Linked DNA regions of Homo sapiens: regions 1 and 3 are each linked to region 2. The links are contacts of gene promoters, found by promoter capture Hi-C in blood cells and fetal thymus (Javierre and others, 2016). All regions are on one chromosome and are shown on one strand. The core of a region is centred on a gene start or on the middle of the fragment in contact, and the rest is flanking DNA. Distances in the headings are between cores, read along the strand shown.

Region 1 (2,906 bases), core at 276-2,775, 130 kb after region 2:
TGATGAGTATGAGATTTTAGAGATGTGTGGGTAAACTCTTGGGCAGGGCTGAGTGGCTTGGTTTGGTTGGAGAGTTACTTCCTGGAATGCGACAGCTTTGTCACTCACACTGGCTGTGGTGTCTTCTACGAAAGTAAAAACTGCTCCAAAGCAGAGGTAGCTTTGTCTTCCTCCTCTTTGTGTCTTCAATTCCAAATGCAATGATTGGCACATGCTGATTCTCGGTAATAATCTGTTGAAGTGATCCAGGCTGAACTGAAGGCTGGCAGTGTGTATTCGTGGTTTTCTAAGGTGGTGGAAGTAGAGAGCCCTGGCCACTCACGGCCCTATCCAGCGCTGCCTTTGTGTGGTGCAGCAGTAGCTAGAGAGCCTAGCAAGCTTTTCCTAGAGAGTTAATTCAGTTCGGTGAGTTCAGTGAGCAGTATGGGCTGAGAGAGCCCTCAAAATTCAACGTAGCACTGGCTCTCCCAGCAGCAGGCATTGTTCAGGTGAGACAGAATGGTTGCCTGAGGAAGTAGTGTGCTGGGGAGACTGCAGGGATTAAGGTCATCCTCTTCCAGATTTTCATTAAGTCTGAAATGCTCTCCTTGGCTCCACAAGAGATCCTCTTGCTATTCCTACTGTGGTGTACGGACAGCTTATGGTTTACTTCTTACAGTTTCCTGTTTCAGATAAGGGGAAGCATGGCCAAGATGGTTCTGTGAGTCAGGCCCAGAAGGGTAATGGGGTTGTTTTCTTGGGAGGCACATGGGCACGGGTAGTATTATTAATATTTCAAGCCAATTGGAAAGGATTGATGTTTCATTATAAAAATATGAAGCAAAATACTTCATTTCAGTGTTTCTATTTCTGGAAATACAAACTAAGTAACAAATTGTTGTCTTGACTTGCAAATTGTTGGTTTCAAGGTCAACATCTGAACTTTCTTTATTGCTCCCTTTAAAATTAAGAAGTTTCTGGATTAATGGTAGTTATCACTCCCAAATTCAGATTCTGCATATCAGCCTAGCTGTCCCTAATGTGGTAGTCTAATTAGAAGGAAAATTGCTGGAATAACCCTGCAGGTTTATCTCACTTGTTTCTTGTTTCCCTTTTGAACCTTTCAGGTACGACAGTGCCAGCCCACAGGGCCATCCTGGTGGCCCGTTGTGAAGTGATGGCAGCCATGTTTAATGGTAATTACATGGAAGCAAAGAGTGTCCTGATTCCCGTTTATGGTGTTTCCAAAGAGACTTTCTTGTCATTTTTAGAATACCTGTACACAGACTCCTGCTGCCCAGGTTAGCAATACAAATGTTGATAGTATCTCAGAATTCTTTCTTTCCTTGCCACCCATTTTGTTAAATTGCACTCTGTGGAATCTATTTTCATTTAAGATTTATTAGTTGACATCACGGAATGTACTAAGCAATTAGAGGTGGTGCTGGAACAACAATGAATTTTCATTCAGTTCAAGTGGAAGTGCAGTGATTGGGTGCCTTTTATGGGTCTCCGACGCCGGCACAAGTTCACATGTCCCAGCCAGCACCTACAGCATGGGGATCACTGTAGGCAACTAGAAATGGAGGTGTCTTGTGGTACCCATGGCTACCGTAATTCTAGAGATCGGGGCAGATTGTTACTTGGAGCGCTGTCTCTTCCACAAGAAGAGGAGGGTTGCGCAACTGCTTTGATGTCTGTGACTTCTGATTGGGGCACTTTTAAGGACTTTCAATATTCTGAGACTTTTTTGGTCTTCCTTCTGCCCAGAGGATGTGGGATTTGTAAAGGCCTCCTTCTGACTTCTGCTAAAGTCAGAAACTCCTCAAACTGACTTCTCTGAAAACTTTTCTTGAGATGTTTAGAATACCCAGTGGACTGTAGGATTCATTTCCAAATTCACTGACCAAGGACTATCTTTGACCAGGAACCAAACATCTGTGACAGCTCTAGGTTGGAACAGATCCAGCAGGGTTCTTCTAGCTGGAGGCACTTGAAGAAATAGCAAAATTTTTTCTACAGGCCTGGAGCCTTGCTTGGGATGCTGGCAGGGAAGCCCTCTGTGAGTAGTCTTCAGCCTTTGGCCACCAGATGGCTCCCACCACAAGCACAACTAGATTCGGCCCCGTGGAGCTCAGTTCAGGAGCCTGAGACCTTGATTAGAGAACCTGGTCAGGCACCCTAATAAACATAAAAAGCAAACACACATTTCAAGCCAGACCTCTCTTCAGATTCACTGCTTTAATTTTTAGAATGGAAAGGTTTCTTACACTGGGTATTGAAATAAGTTTTAAACAAGTCATGAGCCCTCTAGTGAAAGATTTTAGAAGTTCAAAAAGAAGCAAATGTATTTGTGTTGATTAAATTAATTCTGGGCTTGCAGCTTTCTGTAGAGTATTTTGGAGCCAGTTGCAGTTGTTTCTGTCAGTGTTAAAGACTGACTTACGGCCAGGTGCCGTAGCTCATGCCTGTAATCTGAGCACTTTGGAAGGCTGAGGTGAGCAGATCACCTGAAGTCAGTTCAAAAACAGCCTGACCAACATGGTGAAACCCCGTCTCTACTAAAAATACAAAAATTAGCTGGGCATGGTGACGTGTGCCTGTAATCCCAGCTACACGGGAGGCAGAGGCAGGAGAATCGCTTGAACCTGTGAGGCAGAGGTTGCAGTGAGCCAAGATGGCGCCACCACACTCAAGCTTGGGTGACCGAGTGAGACTCCGTCTCAAAAAAAGACTTAGTATTTTTGCCTAATAAAAATGAAAGCATTTGTTCTTTTTGGAAATAAAGCTTATTGTTTATTATTTCATTGTTGGCAAATCTGTATATTAAATTTACAAATTGACCAGATTTGGAGTAATAGGAAAATTTGATTTTCAGTCATCCTCTCACTCAAGTAATTGAAGCTGCTAATATTAAGTTTTACCTT
Region 2 (2,700 bases), core at 173-2,672:
TAAAAAATGGCATTTATATAGCACACTGAGGTAAATGGACAAAGTTCCTGGGTTTCGGCTGCCCCAGTTCATTGGGCCACCCTAGAGCCTGAGATCACTATGTCACCATACTAAATACAAGTTGTAGTGTTCAACCTTGGGTTCACACTGGAATCACTCAGGAAGTTAAAAACATACATTGAATCTGCCCACTCCCTTCCCACCCCAAATAATCTGTGTTTTATTTTGTTGGTCTGGCATACAGACTGGGCATTACGACTTTTCAAAACTCCCAAGCGACTCTAAGGCATAGCCAGGGTTAAGAATCACTGCACTGGAAAGTAGTCAAGGAAATTAAAAACTTAGGCTCATCTAGTTTCCCAGCTCGGAACACAAATATGAGGGTTTTGGTGGTTTTCTTTGTTGTTGTTGTTGTCAATTCAGGGAAGTACAATGAGAAAAAAGCAAAATTGCAAAGTTCATAATATGAAAGTGAAAACTCTCCATCTCCTCCCAAAGCAACCACTATTGTTTCTTTTGATTTTTCGAGAAAAAGTTTATGTACATACCTGCATGTTTGTATTTCAAAAAATAATTGTTTACATTAAAGAGAGGACACCATATATAGTATTCTACGCTTTGCCTTTAATATTCATTACATGATGGGCCTGTCCTTTGAGTATACAGTACACAGCTACGAAGTAATTCACATGTCTGTACTGTTGTGCTGTGTTTTATTGAACCATTCCTCCGTGTTATCACTTCAGCTATTTTCACTACTTCACAGCAATAAACATTTTTTTTTTTTTTGAGATGGAGTTTCGCTCGTGTTGTCCAGGCTGGAGTGCAACGGCGCGATCTCGGCTCACCGCAACCTCTGCCTCCTGGATTCAAAGCGATTCTCCTGCCTCAGCCTCCTGAGTACCTGCGATTACAGGCCTGGGCCACCACGCCCGGCTAATTTTGTATTTTTAGTAGAGATGGGGTTTCTCCATGTTGGTCAGGCTGGTCTCAAACTCCCGACCTCAGGTGATTCGCCCGCCTCGGCCTCCCAAAGTACTGGGATTACAGGCGTGAACCACCGCGCCCGGCCTTAACATCCTTATACATGGGTTACCAGCATCGCGACGACCTTCTGCAAATATTTTTATAGGGTAAATAACTGAATGAAGTCGCTGGGCGCATCTAAAATTTGAATAAATGTAATGAGATCAACAAACAACTAAAAAGTAAACTGATGCTATCCACATTTGTCAAGTACACGAGTATGCCTGCCAGTTTGAAGGTGCTGGCGCGGCGCTGTTGGCCAGAGATCTCTATCAACCAGGGTCATCTGCCGGCAATGCCATAGAGGCGGTCCCGGGGGCGGGCCTTCTTGGGTCACGTGGACGGCCTCGCCCCGCCCCCGTCGAGGCGCCGCGCACGTCTGGAGCTCTGGCTCGTGCAGTAGCGTCACGCGGAGGCGGAGCGAGGACTCGGGGACAGTAAGTTCTGTTCTCGCCGCGCAGGGGGCGGGCTGGCGGGACCAGCTGCTTCCGGCTGGGCTGCGGGCGTGGACTCCTCATTCCGGCTGTGGCCGCGCCGCTGCGGGGCCTGAGGCCCTCTTGGGTTTTGGTTCAGCGTTAGTTAACGGTTAACCCGCCAAGGCGGGCTTCCGCCCAGGCACAGGAGACTCACCGAGCTTGTTCACCTTGAAACTTGGGCCACACCTGAGACCTGCCACCTAAGGGGGGTACGCGGGTCGTTTTTAACAAGCTTTCATGGCATTTGTGCCATGAAAGCTCTAAAGTATAGAAGCTGCTCCAGGGCTTCCGCAGCCCCGGCCGTCCTGGAGATACTCGCCTCCTGGAGTCTGTGTCGAGAATTTGCAGCACCTGGACAGCCACGTGCAGTCTCAGAACTGCAGGCGGTCTTTACCGAAATGTTAAACACAACTTGAAGTTAGGCAGGATAACTGCCAGAGCTGGATGGACCTTAGAGGTGCCAGCTAACGCGCTGTGAGCGTTTTCTGCGGTTAGGCCTGCTCTAAACATTTGACATGTGTTAAAGCATTTATGTGCTTTACCCACACCCCTATGTGGCGGGCCCTTCTTAAAGTAAAAGAAACTGCAGCACAGCGAAGTTAAGCAACTTGCCCCAAATCACGCAGAACTGGGATGCAAACCCAGGTCTAGCTCACTCGTGATCACAATTCAACATCATACGATGGTGCTGATTTCCAGAGCAGCTCTGTGACTTTATATAAAATTATTGGGCAAGCGTTCAATTGTAAACATTCGTGAACATAGCTGTTGCACATTAGCGTTCCTTTTTTTTTTTAATTCAGGACCATCTTTGGTGACAAATATAAATATCAATACTATATATATCACCAATATACATATTTGCTTTGCTAAAAGGTTTCTGTGTCTTCAGGATAGTTTACTTGCAAGCCTCATGTTTTTATAAAAACGTGGGTGCTACCTGAATAAAACTAATGCCTACCCGTTGGCGGTTTTGTGAAGACTAATGAACTATTATATTCAAAGGGTCCAAGCAGTAGGCATTTACTAAAGGACAGCTAGTTTTATCTGTTATTATTCTGCCATTCAGAGAGATACCAAAACTACTCTCTAAGGCATTTCTCTTCCCTGCATGTAAAAGCAAGGGTGTCATACTTGAGATAAGCATTCTGATAATGTGTAGGCAAAGTTTCCACACTTGGTAAAAGCATCTTAGTCA
Region 3 (2,882 bases), core at 117-2,616, 190 kb after region 2:
TGACACATCCAGGTCTACTAATCATGACTACACTGGGAAAGAGGGGACAGAGAATTTGGTAGTCATGGCAGACCCAAGTATCTTACTTCTGCAGATTTGAGGAATACCAGAGAACTGTGAAGAGACTGAGCTTGAAAGTCCATCTCAAAAGGTCTTTGCCCTTCAGCAGTGACATGGCAGTGGGGAGGAAGGAAGAAAACAGGCTGTCTTTGTGTGGCTGGTGATGCCTAAGTGCTGGAGCGTGAGACAGTCCCCAGGCCCTGTGCCATAGCTGACATGCAGGAATAGGCGTTGGCACTGGGGAGAGCCAGTCTGCTTGTGACAGAAGCAGCAGATGATCAGAAATGGAGGGCGCTTTCTGACAATGACACCATCATCCCACAGGGAAGGAACATCTGACTCTTGGCTCCCACTAAGATGCTGCCAGAGCGGCTGGTCTCAAAGGGCAAAACAACAGCCCCTGATGGAAAGTCTTCACGACGCAGCCTCCGAGGTCCTTCCGCTCAAGGTAAGAGCCCTGCTTGCCTGGCTCTAACTGGATTCCTGAAAACACTCAGGCACAGGGCAAGCTGAGGAAGGGGTGGTGTGGGGCGGGGCGGTGGCAACAAGTCAGTCTTCTGAATCCCCTATCAAAAATCTGGGAAAGGTAGCTTTTTACAATGAGGGTTGGAAACACTGACACAGAGGATGCTGACTGGGGAGGTTTGGAGCCAACCATGGGACCAGGCCTGTCCATTACAATAGAACCAACAGGGCAACCTGGAGTCACATAGGCTAATCTAAACCAGCCTGACTGATCCCCATGTCCTTCCCAGGACTTCACTGCTCCAAGAGTAATCAGTCACGTGTCTCAGTAGCAGGAATGAAATCTTTGACCTCACAGCAAGTGAAGCTGGTGAAGGAACAGAAGAGAAGTGAGAATAGGTCCATCTCCACAATGAGGGGAGGACAGCATGGAAGAGGGAGTCCAGGCCCTGCCAGCTGAGGAGATGGGGACATAAGGCACAGCTGTGGTAACCCTGGGCCACCACTCTCCAGCGTCCCCAAAGCCTGCTGTGGTACTCTGTGGCTGCCCTCTGCATCCTGTCTGGCTACCAAGGCGAAAGGGTCTCAGCTGTTTAGGCTAGTGCCAGCCATGCTCCCTCTAATGCCTAAGTGAGGGTTCCGAGGCCTCCACTTCAGCATCTGGGATACTACAAGGGGGACCCAGGAGGAGAAGGGGCCCTAAACATGATCAGGGGATTTTGGCATCCAAACGTGTTGGCCTGGAGACTGTGGGGAGCATAGAAGCTTGGAGAACACACAGCAGGTGTTGATGTGAGGCTGGGCGATGGGGAAATGGAGACTGGGGTTGGGAAACCAACCCCTGGAACAGAGGAAACACAACGCCTTAGGCCTTTACATAACCAGCTTTCAACCTGTCTGCACAGGAGAGTCTCCTGGGAAGCTTTAAAAATACCTGTCTGGGCCCCAACCCGGAACAACTAAATTGGAACCCCAGGGGTCCTCTTGGACTTATGCTCCTTCTAGAGACCTTTCTTCCTCAGTGGAAAACCCACTCAAAGGTGTCTTTTCCGTCTTTGCCGGAAGGCAGAAAATTCACTTGGCACACAGGCTTCTCTGCCAAGTCTTGGGAAGTTTACCTACTCTGTGAGGTGCTGTTTCACTATGAAATTTACTCCCCGTGACGTTCAATCCAGGAAACTGAGTCTCAAGGACCCTGGCTAACAACGGCCCTCACCTCCCTTTGGGTGTATCCCCATTTATTTATGGAAAGTATTTTCTGCCACGTGAAGCACAAAGATTTACTGAGAGGAGGGTGTAGCAGAGTGGTGGGTTAATCCTGAGTGGAGTTGCTTTGCTGTGCAGGTAACTTCCTCTTCCCCCTTACAGCATGAACAGACAGGCCTTTGTGTTCTGAGTTCTTGATTCCCTTGTCCTGGGTGTGGAATGGACAAACACTAAGCTCTTTTGCTTTTTAGAATGGAGATATTGTTTTGAAATGTAAGCTGGAGAAAGGTAGGAGACAGCAACTAGGCTTTGAGAAGAAGGGAGTGGCCTGGCTCTGATGGTAGAGAGAGAGTGGCCAGTCTTGAGTGGTGGGGACTTGCATGCCACTCACCATCCAGCACCCAAGTTGAGATGTACATCTCAGGTGAACTGAGTGAACTGAGGCCATGGACACCTAGGGATGAGACCCGGAGTCTCAGGAACTGGGAGCCAAGTGAAAGGGCCAAAGACCTCGTCTGACCTGGAGATGGTGGGGGCCACCAGAGGAGCCTGCAGATGGGGGCATCGTCCTGGGGACCTGGACAATAAGCAGCTCACTGGCTACCATGCTGCACTAAAGGCCCCTGCCCAATGTTCCTGAATGGTGGAAACTCTAGGACTCTAGACTTCTTTGATCTTCCCAAGGGAGGGATAAGCACAAGGTGATTGGGGTCTGGGCCAGATTTAATTTTCTTTAGAGAAATTAAGAAATGTGGCAATTGTGTTTTTTTTTTTTTTTTTTTTTTTTGAGACAGAGTCTCACTCTGTCGCCAGGCTGGTGTGATCTGGGCTCACTGCAATCTCCGCCTCCTGAGTTCAAGTGATTGTCTTGCCTCAGCCTCCTGAGTAGCTGGGACTACAGGCACCCGCCACCACGCCCAGCTAATTTTTGTATTTTGGGTAGAGACGGGGTTTCACCACGTTGCCCAGGGTGGTCTCCATCCCTTGACCTCATGATCCGCCCACCTCAGCCTCCCAAAGTGCTGGGATTACAGGCATGAGCTACCGCGCCCGGCCAAAATGTGGCAATTCTTATGCTCTAGGGTAGTGGAGTGATTCACACGACCTATATAGATTTGTTGGTTTAAGCAGATCATTGAGGGAGGGCGTTT

What was found. Contacts are between HindIII fragments. The CHiCAGO score rates a contact against its expected background, and 5 or more counts as called.
Region 1: a contact is called between a fragment that was not itself captured here and the fragment with the promoter of RFESD in region 2, in 1 of 17 cell types (megakaryocytes). The highest score is 5.0, in megakaryocytes.
Region 3: a contact is called between a fragment that was not itself captured here and the fragment with the promoter of RFESD in region 2, in 13 of 17 cell types (activated CD4 T cells, non-activated CD4 T cells, total CD8 T cells and 10 more). The highest score is 10.1, in activated CD4 T cells.

Annotation. Positions count from the first base shown.
Region 1 is chr5:95,779,146-95,782,051 of GRCh38, forward strand. RHOBTB3 (Rho related BTB domain containing 3) reads left to right here. Exons shown (of 12, transcript NM_014899.4): 9 at 1,107-1,280. Among named protein-coding and RNA genes, the nearest start is that of GLRX, 42 kb to the right of the region's middle. RefSeq lists an enhancer at 2,100-2,149. The HindIII fragment of the contact is 2,298 bases long and covers 377-2,674 here.
Region 2 is chr5:95,645,355-95,648,054 of GRCh38, forward strand. It overlaps RFESD (Rieske Fe-S domain containing), which reads left to right and starts at 1,423. Exons shown (of 6, transcript NM_001131066.2): 1 at 1,423-1,463. The HindIII fragment of the contact is 4,150 bases long and covers 1-1,732 here.
Region 3 is chr5:95,837,936-95,840,817 of GRCh38, forward strand. All of the region lies in intron 1 of LOC124901029 (a long non-coding RNA gene), which reads right to left. LOC102724720 (a long non-coding RNA gene) reads left to right here. Exons shown (of 3, transcript NR_157807.1): 2 at 385-508. Among named protein-coding and RNA genes, the nearest start is that of LINC01554, 13 kb to the right of the region's middle. The HindIII fragment of the contact is 157 bases long and covers 1,289-1,445 here.